Regions from separate parts of the Homo sapiens genome. Here region 1 is linked to region 2. The links are contacts of gene promoters, found by promoter capture Hi-C in blood cells and fetal thymus (Javierre and others, 2016). All regions are on one chromosome and are shown on one strand. Each heading gives the region's core, a stretch centred on a gene start or on the middle of the fragment in contact. The rest is flanking DNA. Distances are from core to core; before and after follow the strand shown.

Region 1 (5,556 bases), core at 2,063-4,562, about 16 Mb before region 2:
AGGCTGCATAGGTCTGTGTAGAACCTCTGGCTGTCCATGGGAGATTCTTAGCGAACTGTCACTTGGAGAAAAGAATGATTATGATTGAAGGACATAAACGAGAAAGGAAGCTATGAACAAATAATTTTGGGGCAAGTGGAGAAAATGACGGCTTGATCTAGGAGCAGTATGGTTCCCACATTTAATTAGGATTCAAGAAAGAAACGATTTACATTTATCTTTCTTTTCCAAAGCCCCCTAATCTTATATCTCATTGCAGATGAGTAGGATGAATGATGAATGTGTGATATCAGCAGAGGTTTCGTCAACTGTGGGGCACAATATAACATTATTTCGAGTTAGGCAATTTTACTTCATACCAGGAATATTACTTTATGCACTGTTTTTAATATTTGTTTGAAGAATATCCGAATACAGAATTTCTTTACCCATACTGAATTTGTGTGTGTTTACAAGGTTTTTGTGTTTCGCATCAGTGGAAATAAAAGATTGACGTTGCTACCCACTCAACCAGGCATTTTCAGACCACAAATCAGGATGAGAAAGGACTGCTAAACGCAAAGAATGCAGAAATAAAGATTACCCAGAGGTGGCGCTGTGGTAAAAGTACACCTGAATTTTGATTACAGTGAATGTATTTACTCCCTACCTCTCAGAAGAGAGACTGTTAGCCATTATCGCTTTTGTATTTCTATAAACACACATCAGCAAATAAAGCTCTCTGGTAATACACTCCCATCCACTCCAATCTACCAGGACATGTTTAAAGACCTCACTCCGCACAGAATTAGAGCTGAAGCACTAAAACCACCTCCTAAAATGTAGGCCCTGTAGCCTAGAGCTCTGTTATTCAAAGTTTTATCCATCTCACTCTCCTTCCTTCCACAAACACCACCGGGATCCTCTGGATAATCACTCAATGATAGCTGAACATGTGTCTGGTTAAATTTCTAACATTTCCTTCAGGAATTAAGATTTCGTTTTAGTGCATATTCTTCAGGAAAAATCCTGAAAAGTACCACAATTCGTTATACATCTATGCATTATGTGCTCTATCTAAGAAAATCATTTTTAAAAAGAAAAAATAAAGACCATTTGGCTTAATTCTCTCATTTGTGGATGAGAAAATTAAGGCCCAGAGACGGAAATTTACTTGCACATGACAAATCATAACTTAATTGTAGCCCACTAAGATCTTGTGTCATCTCCTTTTATTATAAATTATTTAAAAAGTGAAAATGAACCAGGGGATTCAAATGTATTATTTGTTTATGGTGTTCCTCTCCTCATCTGGTTTAATTGAGTTTTCTTGACTAACCTTCAAGCAGCATTACATCTTTTCTAAGTTGGTCCTCTTTAATCATGCCCATCTGTAGCTGTTTTCTGTGTAGGACATTTTAATTACTATTATAGTTTTAATGACTTTTTTTTAAAAAAAGTTTTTTATATGTGCACAAGGTGAATTCATCATAGCAGTGCAACTTTAAATACAAATCAATAAAATTAATTCATTTAATTTTAAGGTGCTAGAATTAAAAAATGAGTATTTGAATTGATATTTAAAATGCCCTCTACCTGACTGTATGGGCAATAATTATTCTTTCTTATGCAGCCTTATTAATTTTGATGGTTTGAAAGACAGAAATCCCCCAAATAGACACTAAAACCCTAAATGTTCAACATCTGCATTGTCTCGCCAGATTCTCCTTCAGGTTCCTTTCCTCAATCTAGCAGTACTGTGTGTAACACAATATGAAAACTTGCCCCACAAGGCTGGTTTTACTTAATGATACTTAGCAGAAGGGCTTTGCACTTTCATGATAATTTCCACCAGAAAAATCTCTCTGGAACTTACTAACAATAATCAGGCCTAATATTAGCCTCAGTCTGGAGATTTATTTAACCTATTTGGCAGAGTAGATAAAGTCGAATGCCTAGGTATTCAAGCATCTAGGCTGTGCTTCGGCCTTGGAAAAAGACTCTCAGGCTAGCACCCTAAAAGCATTCCTCAAAACTTGATTTATACTAGAAGTGACATTTCTTACTCTCTAGAGGCTGTGAGATTGCAAATCTTGCAATTACTTCCATTGCTTTTGGGGGCTGTGAGAATTTCCGCCTCTCATCCTCCACAGTGAGGAGGGTAGTCGGGAAAGGCTTTCTCCCTTAAGTTTTCGTCAACTTTGAAAATAAGGACTGTGCTCCCTACATCACCAGCAATTGACAAGGATCCAGGAAATGCCTGCTAGGCACTTTCAAACTCGGAAAAATGGGAGTATGAGGGAGGCTAAGTAGGCAGTATTTAGCTAGCAACTATTATTTCCTTTATGTTTCTACCTTGTTAACTAAGCTTCCACTACGGTTCATAAATCTCCAATATCGTGAATTAAAGAAACAACAACAAAAATCCTCTTCTGTGTGCTTGTGCGTGAGGGGATAGAAGTCCACTGCCCTAAGATGCAGGACTTATCTTCCCAAACAGGAAGAGACCCATTTCTGAGAAAGATGGTAAGTTTCCTAAGGGTCTCCTCTCAGATAGAGGGGATGGCAGTCCCCGAGGGGCGAGCGGGCGCGGGTCCTCAGGGTCCCCGTGCGCTGAGAAGGCAGGTGAGGCCCCGCCCTGCGTCTCGACTCCGGATCCCGGGTCGCGAAGGGCAGCCCAAGCGGGTCCCCGGCCCCAGGCGCCCGGGTCACTTCACCCCACCTGATTCGGGCCCTTCCCTTCTCCTCTGTCGGCCAGCTCTGCCGCCTCGCTCTCTCTCCCGCCCCCCGAGTCTCGTTTCAGTCATCCCTTTGTCCTTCCCCGGATTGGCAGGTTTTATTATTCCGCCTGAACAATCCGGCCGCCCAGTGGCTGAGGGTCGCTGACGTCGGAGGCAGAGCCGGGGAGTAGTTGGGATTTTGCTCTGTCAGTAACACATGTGTAAGAGCCGCGGAGGGAGCGAGCGAGCCGGCTAGAGGCCAGCGCCGCCGCCGCCGCCGCCTCCGAGCCGGGCAGCAACAGCCCCGGCAGCGGCGCAGGCTCCAGCGCGCCGGGCCCGGCCGGCCGCAGCCCCCGACGCCTGGGTGCGCCTGCCTGCCGGCCTCCGCACCGTCCGCCGCCGCTCCCGGGGCTGTTGTGTCTGCGACTGCTCCCGGCCGGAGGTGCAGGGAGCTCAGCCGAGCCGCCGCTGCCATCCCGGAGCGAGCAAGCGAGCGAGCGCGCGGGAGGGAGGAAGGCGGCGGCGGAGGAGGAGGAGGAGCGGGAGGAGCGCGGGCGGGGGCGGGGGCCCCCGGGCGGGGGAATATACAAAGTGAAGCCACATTGCCAAACTTGCAGCAGCGATTGCAGCAGTTGCTGCCGCTGCGCCGCGCCTGAAGCCGCGCCGCGCGGGCCGAGGGCTCCTGCAGCTGCTCGCGCGCAGTCGGAGGCGGAGAAGGACGAAGACTGAGACTGACACTTCTGCTCCCGGCCGCCCGGCACTTACGCGGGGGCCCCCCAACCCGCCCCAGAGCAACGCGATTTAAAAAAAAAAAAAAAGCCGCCCTTAGCCCCCTCCTCCCCTTTCCTGCTTCTGCGAGAACTCCCTCCCTCCCTCCAGCTCCGCCAGCCCAGGCGCCCCTTCCCTGGAAGCCGAGCGGCTTCGCTCGCATTTCACCGCCGCCGCCTCTCGCAATATTGCAATATAGGGGAAAAGCAGGTAAGGGGGCGGGTGGAGAGCCGCGGGCCGGGAGGTGGGAGAGGGAGGGAGGGGGTCGATTCGGGCCAGGGCTGTTTTCTTTGGCTTCCTTCCCCTGACCGTCCCAAATTGCAAGTAAACAATACGTCGGCTTAGATAAAGCGCGAGTCTGAAACTACCGAGGCCGGCCTGCGAGCTAGCGCGGAGGGCAGCCCCGGGCCGCCAGCTTTGTAGCGGTTCCTGCTTACAAAAGGGCTCTTCTTGGAAACGGGGCTGGTGGGGACCGTAGAGGGGGTGGGGATATTTCTAGTTCATAAGGGAAAGGCAAGGGGTGCTTAGATGAGGATTTTAAGTATGAGAAGTAGTGTGTTTGGGGGGGTGGGGGTGGGGATAGTCACGATACCCCCCCTCCCTTCTAGTAAACACTATTTTTGAAACAGTGGCAGGAAGGATCTAAGTGAGCAGGATTCGGTATTGCTGGTTCTTTTAAAAAAATTCTTCTTGGCTTATAAGTCTTTTGTTCCAATCCAGGAGAAATACGGTGAATCACCTAATTAAAATCAAGACATGAATTAAGCATCCATTTTTGTACTACAAATTGCCAGCGTTACGTTTGTCCCTCCCTTGGTCTCCATTAAAAAACACCAGAGACGTTGTTAAAGGGGGGCAGATTTTGCCTCTAGCTGCCAGTTCTGCTTTCTATTTCACTGACTATCCCAGGACCTAAATTGCTTGGCTATGTAATTACTAGAGTATAAGCCTATTTAACTTAAAAGCTTTCTTTTTTTTTTTTTTTTTTCCAACTCTAAATGAAACTTGATGAGGGCCCGTCCTTAGTTATCAGGGGAGTCAGTTTCTGGTCAGTCTTCTTGATTCATCTCTTTTAGATTTAATCAGCATTAAGGTATTGCTTGTCCTTAAGAGCTTTAGCTAATGGGGTTACTGGATGCTTTTCTCAGTGTAATGTTTCCTTTTCAAAAAAAAAATACATATATATTTACCTCTCACTAAAGATGGGGGCGGGGAAGAGCTTGGAATCTCCTCCCTCACTCTCCTTTTAAAAAGGAATTCGGAGCGATTAAAACGTTGGGGGAAACAGTTTAAAGATCTAGGGCAGGAAATGCAGATTCATTTGGGTTAGGGCTGAAATTGTAACAAAAAGCAATTCCTCGAGTAAATGCATCAGATAAATCAATTTACATAAAGGTATGATGCATTCGGATAAATGCAATGCTAATGGGTTTTAGAGTGGTCCTGTTTCCAAAGTCTCAGGGTTTTGTTACAGCTTAATTGGTGCAGTTCTTATTCTGGTTTATTGTGCGGTCACTGGACACACGTTCCGGGACTCTTTCGGAGGAAATGTGTTTAAAATCGGCCTATTTAAGGAACCCGAGTCCTTGTTTCGTTCCTTCCTCGTTTTTTTTGCAGCAGCCAAGTTGGGCCGGGTACAGGCAAAGTTCGCCTTCTTCTGAGGTATCAGCTGAATGTCTTGAGCAGATAGCCGGGAGCCTCAGGGGGAGCCCACACTCTCAGCTTACAGAGGACAAAGACAATACAGGCTGCTTAATTGGCAGTAAATAACTTGATCTTTTTACAGAATAAGTGACTAGAGGAACACTAGGACTTTATTGGACTCGGGATTGAAGGCAACAAATTAATCGGTTTAGGCTAAGCTTTATAAATTGATTCCTATATTATATCCCAGTTGCATCTCTTGTGGCATTCATTAGAGTGGGGAATTCTTTTTTAAAGCAGTTTTTGGTGACAGCAGGACGGGCTCGAATTTAACTTGTGCATCCCTTAATGGTGCCTTCTCGCACATTATCTGTAACGCCGCCCGCCCCCCCCCCCCCCCCGCCCTTTGGAGGAACAAAGCTTTAGCATTTAAATTGCTGATCAA
Region 2 (5,608 bases), core at 1,808-4,307:
GCCTCCCATTCCCCAACATAGAAAATCAAGACTGAAAATGAGTTAAATTCACAGTTCTCAAACTGTGCTAAGGTGCCCCAGGTACCCTTGCCACCTTATAGAGGTACTATAGGATATTTTAAATATTTGAGGGAAACATAGCAATACTCACTGTTTACCAGACACTACCTGAACTACCAGCTTGAGATGTTTCTCAATTTGAACATTAGATACTGTTTAATTCCTTTTAAGAATGTCATATATTTGAAAAGCTGGGTTTTTGGCTGTTGCTCTCATATAAAACAAGTGCTTCCTGGAAAACCAGAGTGGAATAGGAAATAAGGTGGCATCAAGGGGTGCTAGAAAAAACTGCTGGGACAATAAAGCTACCAATAACTGAAAAAGTTTGGCAACTTCTGGGCTAGACAAAGAGGAGGGAATGAGAAAGGTACTTCTCAGATACGACCACACATACCTACACTCAGACACAGAAAAGATTAGAGTGTATTACATATTCCTGCAATCCTTTAGGTCAAGCCTGATATGAGGGGAGTGTAAGAAGAGACACCTTAATGGAGTTTGGACTTGACATCTCTAACCAACTGTACTGATAGCAACTGAAAGTGACTAGAAAATTATGACCTCTACCTGAGATATTGTCAAGGAAAGGATAAGGTAGATTTCATTGAGTACAACTAAAAGCAATTAAGTAGAGAGAAAATAAAATTCTGTCATGTAACTATTCCACTCAGTCATGATACCTGAATTACAGTAGATAATGACCATTAAACTCTGCCTGATAGCCCCTGTAGTAATTCCTAACCGTAGGAGGCAGTGGTAAATATAAAAGTGAATTCCTTCATGCATTCATTCATTGAATAGATATTTACAGAATGTGCACTATGTCTGGAACATTTTACTAAACATAAGAGTCACAGGGAGGATGTGACGGTCATTTTGCATGACACCTGTCACCAACTGATCCCAACAGTTGATTTGGCTGATCTGGCTAACTAGCTGGGTTCCCCTTCCTTCCTAACTGCCCCATATATGTCTCTTCCAAAGCTGCCCACTCGGCTGAGGAGGATGACTTACCCCCATAAAGGAGGATGATTTTTCTGTAAGGGCATACGTGTAGCAGTGCTCCCTTGCTAGAAGCTCCAAACAAGTCTTCAAAGAACACACACAAAAAAGCCGCTGAAGGATAGTGTTTAAAATAGCATGACCACTCCAATCGGTTTATAACACTACCCTATTTTTTCCAAAGCACTTATTATTCTCTGAAAAGAACTTTATTTACATATTTATTCTGTCTTGATTTTAGAAAGTAAGCATTGAGAGGGCAGGAATTGATTGTCTTCTTCTTCTTCCTTGCCTCAACTTCTCAACATCTGCATGTCCCATGACTCCATTATGGGCACAATTCTATCTATACCCTTTGTCATTCTTCAGATATAAATACCATATAGGTTGATGCCATACCTCGTGGTAACCTTTCCCAAGAATGCCAAACACACACATTCAACTTCCTACTTGAAACAGGGATACTGAATAGATACCTTAAACTTAATATATGTTCCTCTATTCCCAATGTCCCACTACAGTTTCTAACCTAGCTATACTTGGTCAATCTTCTCACATTCAGTAAATGGCATCATCATCTACAGATGGATAATATCTAGCTTAAGCCAAAAATCCAGAATTTATCCTTGCTTACTATTCTTCATCTGCAAGTTCCTATCAACTACTTCTAAAACGTATCTCAATTCCAGTTCCTTCTCTACATGTCCACTTTCACCAAACTATTATGGTAGTGTTTTTCTCCAGACTTCTACAGTAGTCCAACTGGTCTTTCTGCTTCTGTTTTTTGCATTGCAACCGGAGAAATTTTCATACCTAAACTTTGATTCTCTCCCCTCAACACACACCTACTTAAAGAATTTGTCAGTTTCTAAATGTTCCTCAAATAAAAAGGGCTCCTAACAAATCTACAGCGTCTACGTGGTCTGGCTCTACCTATCTGATATTTTGGTGGGTGTGTGGGGAAGGTTCTTCTCATGTTTGTCTTCTAGTTTTCATTAATATCTGTCTCTCTCCTTTTCCCCAACCAATGCGGGATGACAGCAGATTGCTGGTATACTGCTTACTGCTGTATCTCTAACATTTATTTAAGTGGCAAAAAGAACTGTAAGAGGAACTCTGGTTCTCCAGACTGTAGCAGCTACATCTAGCATAAAACCTCTCTTTAGAATCCTCAAGGCCCTCTCTGTATGGGGTGAGGGGTACATTCCTGACCCTCCGGGGATGATCCCTGCCTCACTCCATTCAGAATCTAGGCAGAACAGTGGATTAGAATGTAGACCCCCAGTCAGAACACCAAGGGTCAAAACTTAGTTCTTCCACTTTCTAGCTGTGTGATTTAACCTCTTTGTACATCAGTGTCCTCAGCTGTAAAATAGGGAGAAAAGTACCTACACCTACACACACACACACATACACACACACACACACACACACCCCTACACACACACACATACACACACATGCAATAATTTATTTATTAGGTTACCTCTCCCTAGAGGCTGCCATTTCTGCGAAATGAACCCTGGCAGGGGCCTATCCGTCTGCTAAATGCCTACTGATTCAAGAAAAAAGTCTGAACTCTCAACGTTTTGCCCCTTAAACTGAGTTCTCCTCCCTACAATGGTGTCTAATGAGTTGACAGAATAACTGGCTAGCTTTATATTTTACCATCTAAATACTGTAAGAACATACCCGGTATTTCCACACCCAAGTTCTCCTCCTTGCTATTCAGGCCAATTCACTTTCCCAAGGCCAGGGATTAAGAGCCGCACGGTCAGCTCCAGATAGCGCTCGCCGCCGTGCGCCCCGCCCCGCCGTGCGCCCCGCCCCGCCGTGCGCCCCGCCCCGCCGTGCGCCCCGCCCCGCCGTGCGCCCCGCCCCGCCGTGCGCCCCGCCCCGCCGTGCGCCCCGCCCCGCCGTGCGCCCCGCCCCGCCGTGCGCCCCGCCCCGCCGTGCGCCCCGCCCCGCCCTGTGACGGTCCCAGCCCGCACATGCGCAGTCGTGAGTCCTCTTGTCCTTGAGCGTCAACCTTCTTTCCCTGAAGTGGCTGGGGTTCCTGTTTCCTTCTTTGATTGACAACTTGTGTTAACCCTCGCACATCTCTGGGCCAATTTTTGCTTGTAAGTCTTTCCGGAGACCCCTGGAATTTAAATCATTAGCACCGCGCCCTTCCCCGAAGAGTCTTCGAAGGGTTGCCGCTTTTCGGTGGCGCAGTTCTCGCGAGAAGGTGACTTTCTTTCTCGGTATTTCCTGGTTTCCAGAATCCTTAGCGCGAGGCGGAAAAAATATTTCTCCCAGCTTGTGTTGATGCCGCGATTTTGACTGAGACTTCTTCCCACGATTTCTGTTTTTGCTTCTCCAAGGAAAATGGCAGCTCCCGAGCAGCCGCTTGCGATATCAAGGGGATGCACGAGCTCCTCCTCGCTTTCCCCGCCTCGGGGCGACCGAACCCTTCTGGTCAGGCACCTGCCGGCTGAGCTTACTGCTGAGGAGAAAGAGGACTTGCTGAAGTACTTCGGGGCTCAGTCTGTGCGGGTCCTGTCAGATAAGGGGCGACTGGTAAGGGCGCGCCCCTCCGGAGTCTCCCGGGAAGGCATTTGGGAAGTGACCGGGGAGGGGGAGCGCTGACAAGAGTAAAATGGAAACGAGTGGGGAAGATGGACTTGTGTGATGAGAGCTCCCCCATCCTACCTCTTTTTTATCAAAATATCTGCTCTGCGAAGTGGAGTTTTAATCGGCTCGAGTCTGGATTAGTCATAGCACTGCAGAAAAGGGCAAGTGAGAACGACAAAGCAGAAGAATGGAAATTAGCTTAGTTATATTGAGTTTTCGGATCCATCCTGAGAGCCTCACAACTTTTTTGAATTTGGGGTTATTTCTCCTGGACTCAAGAGTATTCTTACAAATGTGCATCAAGGGATTTTTTAAAGTCCTACTTCATTTATAAGCCAATGTTAAATCGTTCATTAAAATAGAGGAGAAGCTACATTGGTGACTTGCGTAAATTAAATGCAGAATTTCAACTAGAAAAAGAGGCTTTTCATAAAAATTTCCCGATGACATCTTTTAGGGAACAATTTTTTAGGGCTGTTAAGAGTACCTGTGTAGGAATTTACACAATTACTTTGTTTTGCTTTATATCCAAAGATATTTTAGATTTCTCTTCATTAAAATAGGAATAGCGATGGTGCAAGACTCAGTGGTTTTAAAGTTTCCCTAGGTGATTTTAATGTTAATGTGCAGCCCAAGTTGAGAGTTACTGAATTAGAAGAAAGACCAATTTTGATCAGTTTAAATGTCACTTATGCCTGCAAATTAAAAAAAAAAAATTATATATGGCTCAATTTAAGTACATCAGGTCATCGTGTATCAGATTAGACAAAATTAGAATGTGCGATATAATTATTAAAGTAACTTTTAATAAGCATTGACCAGAGCTCTTCCTTAGCATAGTGATTCTTTTACTGTTGATTTGTGTTTCTTTTCTGATGGTTTTTAAAATCCGTATAATTTATGTTTAAAAATAGACTTCTCCCATTGAACATTATTACAAAGATAAAGCACAAAGGAAATATGCACCTTGAAGAACGATTTCTCTGTTGGTGAATGTTTTTAAACTACGCATTGTTATGTATAGAGGAAAGTTTAAAATCTTTAGATCTGTCATAAATGAAGGAAATAAATTTTTAGTTGGTTAAAAGTGACCCTCTGTGTAGAACAGGTCTTTAAACTTTTGGTCTTTTGAACTATTTGCATGTGTAAAACGTGTGTCTTTATATGATAGAGGTTGCATAGCTTTCATCTCAAGTCTGACTCAAAAAGTATTGAAAACCACTGGACTGAAATTAGTAATCAGTTAAATGGTCTTGAGTTTTCATCCTTTCCCGTGATTTTATTAACATGTCACATTACTCCACTGGTAAAAAGTCAGATTTCTTTGTGAGAAACTGAAATTATATTGGAAGTAATTTGTACCTTAACTCTGTTTCAGAAACATACAGCTTTTGCCACATTCCCTAATGAAAAAGCAGCTATAAAGGTATGACTTTTTCTTGACGATTAAAGTTGTCAACAGGATCCTCTTATACAATCTTGGTTCAGATAATGTTTAACTGTGGTTTTTAAGAAGCAAAAGCGTTTGTATTCCAACAGTTTCCCCAACAGACTACATTTGATTTGTCAGTTGGCAGATCTTGCCCAGTCCTTTAGTAGATTATCTATAAAGAAAAACTAACTGCGTATGTAATTAAAATAACAATTTCTAAATGATTTAGATTGATAAATATCTCTGTGACTGTTACAAGGTAAGATGTTTCAAGTGTTAAAAGGAGAATATACATTTCTTTATAATGCCAGGGAATCATTCACAGGAGGTGATCTTTTAGCTAGAAGTCTAATGATTAATTGGATTTTTTCAGAAGGAAACAAGTGGAGATGGGCCTTCTGGGCTTGCAGAACACCAAATAAAGCTGTGAGACATTGGAAGTTATAAGTGGAGCAGGAGCTAAGGGTTGAGATGGAAATGGAACTTGAAAAATAGATTTGA

What was found. Contacts are between HindIII fragments. The CHiCAGO score rates a contact against its expected background, and 5 or more counts as called.
Region 1: a contact is called between the fragment with the promoter of LMO4 here and the fragment with the promoter of RNPC3 in region 2, in 1 of 17 cell types (total CD4 T cells). The highest score is 12.0, in total CD4 T cells.

Annotation. Positions count from the first base shown.
Region 1 is chr1:87,325,568-87,331,123 of GRCh38, forward strand. LMO4 (LIM domain only 4) reads left to right here and starts at 3,313. Exons shown (of 5, transcript NM_006769.4): 1 at 3,313-3,677. RefSeq lists silencers at 496-545, 2,515-2,684, 2,935-3,364, 4,288-4,377 and enhancers at 3,223-3,800, 3,801-4,376, 3,942-5,487, 5,157-5,556. The HindIII fragment of the contact is 2,085 bases long and covers 2,346-4,430 here.
Region 2 is chr1:103,522,642-103,528,249 of GRCh38, forward strand. RNPC3 (RNA binding region (RNP1, RRM) containing 3) reads left to right here and starts at 3,058. Exons shown (of 15, transcript NM_017619.4): 1 at 3,058-3,621; 2 at 5,054-5,101. The coding sequence starts at 3,430. It overlaps RNPC3-DT (RNPC3 divergent transcript), which reads right to left and starts at 2,867. Exons shown (of 4, transcript NR_168321.1): 1 at 2,755-2,867. It also overlaps the pseudogene RN7SKP285. RefSeq lists a silencer at 2,850-2,949 and an enhancer at 3,270-3,509. The HindIII fragment of the contact is 7,657 bases long and covers 1-5,608 here.